Linked DNA regions of Homo sapiens: region 2 is linked to region 1. The links are contacts of gene promoters, found by promoter capture Hi-C in blood cells and fetal thymus (Javierre and others, 2016). All regions are on one chromosome and are shown on one strand. The core of a region is centred on a gene start or on the middle of the fragment in contact, and the rest is flanking DNA. Distances in the headings are between cores, read along the strand shown.

Evidence for each region. The method cuts DNA at HindIII sites, captures the fragments that hold promoters and counts their contacts. A CHiCAGO score of 5 or more calls a contact.
Region 2: a fragment that was not itself captured here is called in contact with the fragment with the promoter of RSC1A1 in region 1 in 1 of 17 cell types (naive B cells); the score reaches 5.3 in naive B cells.

Annotation. Positions count from the first base shown.
Region 1 is chr1:15,657,372-15,662,391 of GRCh38, reverse strand. RSC1A1 (regulator of solute carriers 1) reads right to left here and starts at 2,679. Exons shown (of 1, transcript NM_006511.3): 1 at 359-2,679. The coding sequence starts at 2,523. The coding sequence ends at 670. It overlaps DDI2 (DDI proteasomal shuttling factor 2), which reads right to left. Exons shown (of 10, transcript NM_032341.5): 10 at 1-2,555. The HindIII fragment of the contact is 1,265 bases long and covers 1,979-3,243 here.
Region 2 is chr1:15,927,624-15,932,643 of GRCh38, reverse strand. SPEN (spen family transcriptional repressor) reads right to left here. Exons shown (of 15, transcript NM_015001.3): 11 at 1-4,553. Among named protein-coding and RNA genes, the nearest start is that of ZBTB17, 46 kb to the left of the region's middle. The HindIII fragment of the contact is 1,630 bases long and covers 2,070-3,699 here.

The DNA of each region.
Region 1 (5,020 bases), core at 1,430-3,929:
GCAGCCTGTGATGCACAAAGTAGCCCAAGATTTAAACCCTCCTGCTCGCCCTATTAAAATGTCAAATCCTAAGCACACAAATAAAAACATACCACTCTACGATAAGATATTCAATTATTCTCCAATTTCCTGTTATAATTAATGAATCATGATACACAGAGCACTGGGTAGAATTCCAAACACCAAATTATGTGGTCAAAAGTTTCTAAATTGACAACTGAGCCAGCAAACCATACCTTGCCATCAGCACAGACACACAGTCACAGTGTGGAGAGTTCATCTGTTTTTAGCTGGATGGGTAGTGGGATTTCTCATGGCTTCTGCTTTTCAAAGCATTTACTCTCATTCTAAAACAGTATGCTACACACAAAACCATCCATTTTATTCCAGGATACATCTTAATGAGAATAAAAAGCTTCTGTATGCACATACTGCCAATACATTTAAAAAGGCCTAAATTTTAACAAGTAGGATAGACAAATTCATCAGACAAAAGATCATAAATTACTTTGGCCGAAAAAAATCTTTAAAAAAAATCTGGCTCAACATTCTGCTTGCAGGTTTCTATATATACTGTATATGTGGTGAGTGTGTATGTGTGCGTGTATATAGAGAGAGCTTTCTTTTGTTTAAAGGGAATGGAGAACGGTCTAGCCCACTTTCCCACAGTCATGTAGGAACTACGATGTTTTTTGCGAGCAAAACAAGAAGTGCAAGGTCTGCATTCCCACCAACTCGATGCAAAGCTCCAAGAGCTTCCTGCAAAGTAAAGCCAGCACGGAGAATGCGGTCAATATCTGTGGCAGGAAAAATCAATGGTGGAAGAATGGCAGGACTTGATGATGGATGGCTGGTAGGTGGTTCATATTCAAGTAATGGCCTCGAAGCATCAGGACAGACATTTTCTCTGGTTTCAGGCCTGTCTGTTACTGAATTCTGTATGCCCTGACCTAAGTCTTTAACCAATATGAAATTGGATGACAAAGACTTAGTTTGCTCAGAAGTCTGATTGAGTGCATCCTCCTCACCTGCTAAAAGTTTGGGTGAAATTTCTACACCTAAGGTGCAGTGTAACTGATTGGATGTTTTAGCTGAGGTTACAGTGACAGAACGGTTCTTATTTATGGATTCCCTAGATTTGGGGACACCTTCCTTATCGGTTGACAGGCCATCACCTAGACTCCTGAAGTTTACATTTTCTACAGCTTCTCTTCCAGTGTCAGATGAAGTACCTGTTAATTTTTCTGTCTCCACTGATACAGATATGGCCTGATGAAAGGAGACTTGTGGACACTGTTCATTCTGGGTAAGATGCTCATTTTGGGTCCATCTTTCAGAAAGGTCTTTAATACTGGTTTGGCCCTCAGCTATGGTTTCTGATTGACAGATTACTTCTTCAGATGTATTTTCTGAAGCTGGTTTACTGCTAACAACCAAAAGTTCATGAAGTTCTTTCAAGGCTGCCGTTATAGACGGGCAAGATTCTTCTGCTGACTCCACAGAAGGCTGACAACTGCCACAGAGACTTGGAGAGGAGTAATGGCCATATTCTTTATTTGTTCCAGGTATTTCAACATTAGTTTCTGGGGGCTGTAAATCCTGAGTGGAAATGGAATCATTCAAAATTTCAGATGAAGGGTTACATTTTGATGTTTCTACTTCCATCAAGGGATTATCTAAAGTGAGATCCAATGCACCAATGTTCTTGACATTGGCATTCTGCCTGCCTGTTGAATTAAGCAAAGTAACTAGGGACTGTTGAGCTGTATCGATTTCCATAAATGTTTCTGAATTTGAGCAGCCACTGCATTCTGAAGATGGAATACTTTTCTTCGCACTTGGAGGATCCACATTCTGTGGGAGCCCATTTCCTTTCATCGTAGCTTCCAAATCAACAATTTTGTGTTGATTCTGTTGCCTTTCTTCAGGAAGCTCAAGGTCCCCTATGTTACAAAGATATTCTTGGTCATGTGAAGCTTTTTGTTGTGCAACCTCATACTGTTCATTCCCTGGTTCTTCGTGCTGCTGAGGGTCACTCACTTGACTCAGGTTCTGATTTTCTGGATGCCAATCCTTTTCACCTAGAAACATCTGTGGTTCATGCATCCTAGTAGATGTGACAGATAAACTAGCTTCCTGTCTTGTATGGAGATGAAATTTGAGGCCCTGGGTGCTTCTTTCAGCAGATTTCTCCAGATTACCTGCAACAGTTATTTCTTCGGATGAATTCTGCATAGGCATAGCTGGACTCTGGTCTGTTGGAGCATGGTCTGCTGAGGAAGCATGATCAGAAAGATCTTGTAAAGAAAGATGTTCTTTCTTTTCAGAGTTTAGCTGGAATTCAGCTGAAGCCTTCAAAGCCTTCACAGCTTTAGGTTCAATGCGATCTGAGTCACTGGGCTTGATAGGGCAGACTGAAGCAGAGACAGAGCGAGCAAGACTCATAGGATTACCAACATCAGGACTCTGTCCTGAAGAACGGGCGGGATGGTTAAACCCATCTGAAGTTGGTAATGATGACATTCCCAGTGAGGTAGATTCTTTACCACTTTTCTCTATATGGAACACAGGGGAAAGGAAAAAGATTAATTAGCAGGTGACTAATGCCACTAAATTACCAGAGGATACAAATCTAAACAGCGTAGAATAAAATAAGGTCCTCAAACTCGGGTTTCTCTTACACAAATAGAAATGATTTTAAAATTACTTTCTCATTGTGGTAGACATTCACAGCATCAGAATAAGAGGTAGACATGTTCTTAATAAAATCTGCATACTGTAATTCAATGTGATTAAGTATCCATTAATATGCATTCACATAATGGCGGGGTTAGTGCTCAGGAATGAAGGACATTTATGTTTCTTTATTCCCTAGTCTAGTCTACAACTCTAGAATAGTTTCTCCAAGTGTACTTTTTTCACCACTTGCCCTAAAACCACCAGGGACGCTTGTGAAGTATGCAGACCCTGGGGTACCATACTTGAGAGTAAATCCAGGAATGTGCATTTTCAATAAGCTCCTTGGGTGATTCTTAAGGATATTACAAATCCTGAGAATCTTTGCACCAGAATGATTCTCATGTTAATGCACTTTTCTTGTTTCAAATGTGAACACTGAGGTTACAAATGAGAAGTCTTAAACCAGGTATACCTGGACAGAGAGGGAATTATAAAGAGAAATAAGAAATAACATAATGCTTGGGGACAGAGAAGCAAATGTTCTATTTTATTTCTAGCCAAGCTTTCCAAAAATCATGGTAAAACTGGGTGAGCATCTGACTCAGAAAACAAAAGTAAACTAATGATCAGCAGATTAAATCACAATCATCATCCTACCAAATAATACAACTCTAAACTTAAAAGGCTTATAAGTTTTTATCACATCAATAGTGTGCAACTAAGTTAAGAATATTTAAATGTTTTAAAGAAAGGGGAATGTGGAGGGAGATGGTTCATTAATAGTTTTTCAACTGGCAATGACTATTTAGATTCACTGCTACCTTAGACCACCCAAACAAGACGGCTCAGTGTAAGCATCATAGTATCATTAAACATCATTTCCAGCTCTTCTTTTGCCACCAATCCAGTTAAAAATTGACCTCTACGCATGTAAGTGTAAGAATTTTTTTTTTTTTTTAAGACTGTGTTTTGCTCTTGTTGCCCAGACAGGAGTACAATGGCGCCATCTGAGCTCACCGCAACCTCCGCCTCCCGGGTCCAAGCGATTCTCCTGCCTCAGAGTAGCTGGGATTACATGCATGCGCCACACACCCGACTAATTTTGCATTTTTAGTAGAGATGAGGTTTCTCCACGTTGGTCAGGGTGGTCTCAAACTCTTGACCTCAGGTGATCCGCCCGCCTCAGCCTCCCAAAGTGCTTGGATTACAGGCAAGAGCCACCGCACCCGACCATTGTAAGATCTTTAATTAAAAATCAAAAAGGGCTGGGCACAGTGGCTCATGCCTGTAATCCCAGCACTTTGGGAGGCCGAGGCAGGTGGATCACCTGAGGTCAGGAGTTCGAGACCAGCCTGGCCAACGTGGTGAAACCTCATCTCTACTAAAAATACAAAAATTAGCCAGGCGTGGTGGTGGGTGCCTGTAATCCCAGCTACTAGGTAGGCTGAGGTGGGAGAATTGCTTGAACCCAGGAGGGAGAGGTTGCAGTGAGCCAAGACTGCACCACTGCACTCCAGCCTGGGTGACAGAGTGAAACTCAGTCAAAATAAAAAATAATAATAATAAAAAATAAAAATCAAAAGGTCAGTAACAAAAATGACTTCAAAATACAATCTATTATTAGGACAGATGCAACTCAAATGCTCAGTACTAAATGTTAACATCCAACAAGAGGGCTTGATCTTAAAAAGCAGCAAAGCAGTTATATTCAAAAGGCTTTAAATCATTCTAATAAACTACTGGTTAACAGCATGAGAAGACAAAGCATTGTTTCAGGAAGCTATTGACTTCCCATGAAACAATCTTACCTTACTTACACTTTAGGAGTAAAAAGGAAAACTGCACTTATCTCAGTTTAGGCTATACCCATTAGAGTCTAGAAACACAGTTATTAGTTTTTTTATTTTCATACCACCAGATGTCTAACAGTTATTAGTTTTATTTAAAACTAAGGCTGACTCTGGAAGAGGTTGAATTTTGAACTAATGTTAACAGAAACAATGCACTGTAGTGAAATATCCATGTAAGCAACATAAAGAGGTATGGTAAGGGCCTTCTGGTATTTGTGTGTTAGTTATAAACAAGTGAGGTCAAGGTGAACACACCCTCAATGAATTTTGTACTAAAAAAGTAGCATATAGTCCTCTTGTAGCTGAGAAGGTCAGTTTCACTAGCCTAAGTCCTAAACGTAGGGGAGGACTAGGTCAGTTTACAGAATGACAGGAGAAGAGGATGAGGACAGTGGATATTAAGAATAATTCAACTATGCCTGCTTTTAACCTATCCTTACAAGGAAAAGAAAAAGGAAAGAAAGAAGAGAAACTAAATGCTATGTATCTAA
Region 2 (5,020 bases), core at 1,635-4,134, 270 kb before region 1:
ATGATAAACCATCCTCCTTTTGGGGACTCTCACTTTTCTCAGGGGAGACTGCCACCACCCCAGATTCCCTCTCCCCTGCCTGTGCTGCAGCCCCCCTGGGACTGACAGCAGCATCCACATTTTTCAGACTTGCAGATTTGTCCACTGCTAACCTGGAGTTTCGAGATCTTCCTCTCTTTGATTTGGAGTTTTTTTCAGGGGCCGGTTTTTTCTCTACAACTTCAACAGGGGCGGTTTCAGGGGGGTTTTTGTCTGTGCCAGCATCTTTTCTGTCACGTTTCTGTTCACTCCCTGCCTCCTCCTCAGCAGCCTTGGGTTCCATGGAGCTCTCTTTCACGCCTATTTGGGGGCCCACCTCAGTGGTGGCCTCAGGACGTGTAGCATCCACCTTCGGTTCATTTTTTCCCTTTTTCCCTTGGGGTCCACCACCAGCTGCAGTTTTCTGGGACCTTGGCGACCGCCATCCCTCAGGTGGCTTGAGTGTTTCTGCAGGTTCCTTGGCCTCGTTCTCCTCCTCTTCATCGGCTCGCCGGCGTGTCTTTGGAGGCCTTCCCCTCCGAGGGGTGGTGGGAACCGCTGCAGCCTCCTGAAGCTCTCGCTCCAATCTCTTTCTGGTCACTCTTGGTTGCTCAACGGGCTCTTTGACAGGAGAGCGGTTTTCATGGTCACCCATGGTTGCATAGACGCTCCTTACATTCCGGCGCCTTGTTCGGCTGAGAGGCAAACTTGGTTCGGGATGTTCAAGGTCTGCAGCAGAGTTTTTAGAAGCAGTCCTTGTAATCTTCTCTGCCTCCATCTTCAATTCCAAAAGCTTCTGTGCTTCTCCCCGAGGAGAATTGGACCGCTTGAGTTTTTCCCGGTCTATCCTCTCACTCTTCCTTGTGACGGGCTTCTCCACGATACTCACTGCAGCTGCCTGAACAGGGGTCTTTGAACGCTTGCTTTTGTTTGGCTTTTTATCCTTTGCAGCAACTGGAGGATCAACCTCTAAATCTTCAGAAGCTGGGGGCTGAGACTCAGGAGCAGCTTCGGCTTTCTGGTTTGCATCAGGCTCAGCATCTGCAGTGGCGTCTGGCTTTTCGGCCTTTGGCTCATTGGCTTCCTCAGACTTCTGAGCTGGTTTTGAAAGTGGCTGGGTACTGTCAGGCTCTGGATCTACGTTGCTCTCTGCCTGGGAAAACGAGGCCCCGGGAGTTGGAGGCTTGGCATCCAGATAAGGCGGCTGGTCACCTGATGAACCTTCCTCAACACCCGCAGGCATCATGGCAGCTTCTTTATCGGGGTCTGCTCCTGGGGGCAGGTCTACTTGTTCCAGCTGTTCCACAGGGGCAGGAGCAGGTTCAGATGCAGGCTTTGCTTCTTCTGAGACGGTAGCTGGCTCCACAGTCTTCTCTTCTGTTACCAAAGGCGCCTCTACCGTTTTGTCACCAGTGGTCTTCTCTAGTGCTGATGGGGCTGATTCTAGAGTTACGACTGTGACACTTGGAGGCCCAACGGAAGGTGGAGTTTTCAGTTCTGAATCTTTATTCTCAGGAGCAGATTCTGGGGTCTTGGGATGATTCTCTGTATCTTCCTGTTTCTCAACCTCTTTGGGTTTCTGGTCTTTTTCTTTTTCTTTCTGTTGCATCCGTGTGAGCTCCATAAATCTGCTATGGAACAGAACTACTGGTTCTTGAATGGAATCAGTTGTGCTGTTTGCTCCCTCAGATGTCTGCTTCCCATAGATCCTACCAGAAATGAAGTCAGAATCTTCCTCTTTTCTCTCTAGATGCTGCAATCGCTTGGAATCTTGTTCAAAGATTGAGCTGTGTAAAAAACGAGAAGCAAACAATTCCTGCCTCTCTTGCTCTTCTTCTTTATGGTCCTCTTTCTTATCATCCATTTTCCCTTCTGAATCAGTCCTAATTTTCTTCTTTTTCATGTACCAGGATGGAATAGGTCTTGGAGCAGAGTCAACCTTTTCTTTATCTTTGTTGTTTCGAAAATTTGCAAATCGGGAGTCCCAATCAAGAAAAGACCAATTTTCTTCACGAGATGAAGAGAGGGATTTAGCTCTTTCAAGCAAAGCTTTAGTGTCTGGTGTGATTGTCTTATCCAATGCAAAAGAGTAAAATTTGTTCCTTTCTAAAGAACTAGAGAGTCTTTCATCTCGCTCACGTAGCTTGTCTTCTCTGTCCCTCAATAAAAAAGACAATCGAGAACTTTCATATAATGCAGAGGCTCTGGGTGAGTGGGATTTGTGTTCACCATCTTCGTCAGAATCAGAAGGCACCTCACCAGGTTCCAGATCTCGTACAGACCTTTTTCGAAGGCTATCTCTCTTAATTATGCTGTTTGGGAAACTCACATCAAATCTGCCAGCATCCTGTTTCATCTGAGAGTCCCAACGATTTAGTTCATCTTCAGAATTCAAGACAGATAGTTTTATTTTGGCCATATCTGCCATCTGTTCTCTCCTGCTAGAATCATAAGGATTAAATTTTAAAGACTCTTCCCTGACTGTTATGTTAGAATAGGGGAGGACTTTTTCATCTACTTTAGGAGACCCTTTTACTGACAGTAGCCTAGGGGAGCCTATGGGATCCTCATCTTCATGGAAGGAACCATGTCGGACACTGGGAGAACCACCAGTCCTTTCAGAATCTTCGCTGATTTGGCGTGAACTTCTGTAATTCCGTTCTCGCTTGGTGCAGATATCAAAATCGACATGATCCATCCTTTTCTTTTTGCTAGGAGGAGAGTCATCAGTGACATCTTGAGGGGGTTTGCCTACCTCGTGAACGAGGCTACGTCTTTCATATTCATCTACATCTTTTTTAGGACTGCCAAACTTCTCAGACTTGGCTATTTCCATTTCCATCTGCTGTTTCCTACGACTCTGTTCCATTTGTTTTCGGTAACTCTGCGTGTGATCGATGTCAATGCCAATTTTTTCTTCAGTATTTACTGAATGTGATTTCTCTTGGCCTGATTTACGTTCAGGTGTTTCATCACGAAGACTGCAATAGTTTTTCCTAACGTCTTCTCTCTCTGGTCCTTGATCATCTAATACCTGCAGCTGTTTGAGCTGTGGTTTTGAGGGAATGGGCTTTTTTGATTGGACTTCTTGATTTTCCACAGATTCACCTGCTAGTTCTCCCAGTCTTGCTTGTAGGTCTGAGCTGGGCCTTGAGCCAGACCCAACAGAAATACTGGCAAGCTCCTGACAGTCTTTGGGGCTGGCAACAGTATTAAGTCTGTCCAGTTTGATTTTTTTAGATTCTCTTTTAAGAATTTCTTTCCTCACAGGCTTTCTTTCAGCCTCTCCTTCCCTCAGCAGAATGACCTCTCTAGAGGACACGTCAGGCTGCTTTTTTGAAAGCACGCGAGCATCCTCCATCTCTGGACTGCTTTTCTTGACCTCTGGTTTTTGCTTTTCTGCTTTTAAATTGGAATCTGCAAAGCGCCTTTTCCTGGCTTCCAGCTTCTCCAGATCCACAGCACTTACCCCATCTGCAGGCTGCTCAGGCTTGAGGTGCTTCCTGGCTTTAAGCCTGCCTTCCTTCTCCACCACTTCAACATGGCTTGAAAGCCCCTTTTCCTTTGGTACTTTCATTCTAACTGATTCCAGTTTAGACAAGTCAGATTTTGCAGGCTCCGTCTGAGAGACCTGAAGTTTCTGGTCCAGGGCAGAAGATTTGACAGTGTCATTATCAAGCTTGGCTTTCAACTTTTCCACAGGAGTGTGGTCAATGACCTTTCCCTCTTTCTCTTTCACTCGAGTCAAAACCACGCAAGGCATGAGTTCCAGGCGGTTTTTCGCTATTCCCTCTTTGTCAGCTTTCTCTCTGCTCAGTTTATTACAACTCCTGGGCTTTTCAGGGCTTTGCTCTCGCTCATTTTCTTGGTCCGTTTCTGAAGACTGAGAACTAGGGGAGTGAACCTTTCCTTTGCGTTTCTGCTTGTCAGTTTTGTCCTTTTCCACTTTTTCCTTCCGTATTAAGCGTCTCTCTCTCTCCACTCTCTCCGGATCAAAAGTTCGTTCTTTATCTGTCTTTTCATTTTTTGTATAGCGCTCCAAACGAGACTTGTCCAGTTTCTCATATCTTGGAGGGGAGAGTGAGCTACAGCTTCCACTCCGGTCTGAGGATCGGCTGTAAAGCCTCCTCTCAGAATCACTCGGCAACCTCTCTGCCTGAGAGGGAGACGCTCCAGGACTCTGTGGACGTCGCAAGTGAACAGGACTTTGACTTCGTTCAATCGGCCTCCTCTCATGGTCTCTGTCCCGGTCAGACTCAAATCTTTCACGTTCTCTTTCTCGTTCCCTTTGCCTGTAACTATATTCCCTAATATCTTGTTCATAAGGATCATTCCTGTAATCCCTGTATTCCCGAGGATCATCGTAGTATCGTGATTCATAGTAGTCTCCTTGGTAAGTTTCCCATTCTGAATAAAACTCTCTCCCTCGAGCTGGATAGTCCCGCCTGGAATCCTCAGGATAAGTGCCTGGAGTTCGAACACTCTCATAATATGTACGATCTTGGTTATAGTCGTAGGATGCCCTTCGTTCCTCTCTGCCAAAAAATAACAAAGATATTAGTTCTTTTGTTTCCTCATCACTTATGCATAAAATCATACATATGAAATCAGAAATTCCTGCTTCTAAAAAATCTTTTGACATTATTTAATCATTTGTGAAATGATTAGTTTGTAGTAGCTATCCACTATAGCTTCAAGTAGCTACTAGGCACTTGAAATCTAGCTAAATTGAGATGTGTAAAATACACAGCCAATTTTGTAGACCTAGTTTATAGAAAAACAACAATTTAGACTGATTATATGTTGAAACAACGTTTTAGATATATTAAAGAAAATTTCACTTTGTCTTTTTAATGTGGCTACTAGAAAATTTAAAATTACATATACAGAATTTATATAACTTACATTATGCTTCTATTGGGCAGTGGTGATTCAACCCTTTTTTAATGTTTCTGGTAACTCCGGCGTTGTGACAAAGCAGACACTAGTTACTGGACAATAT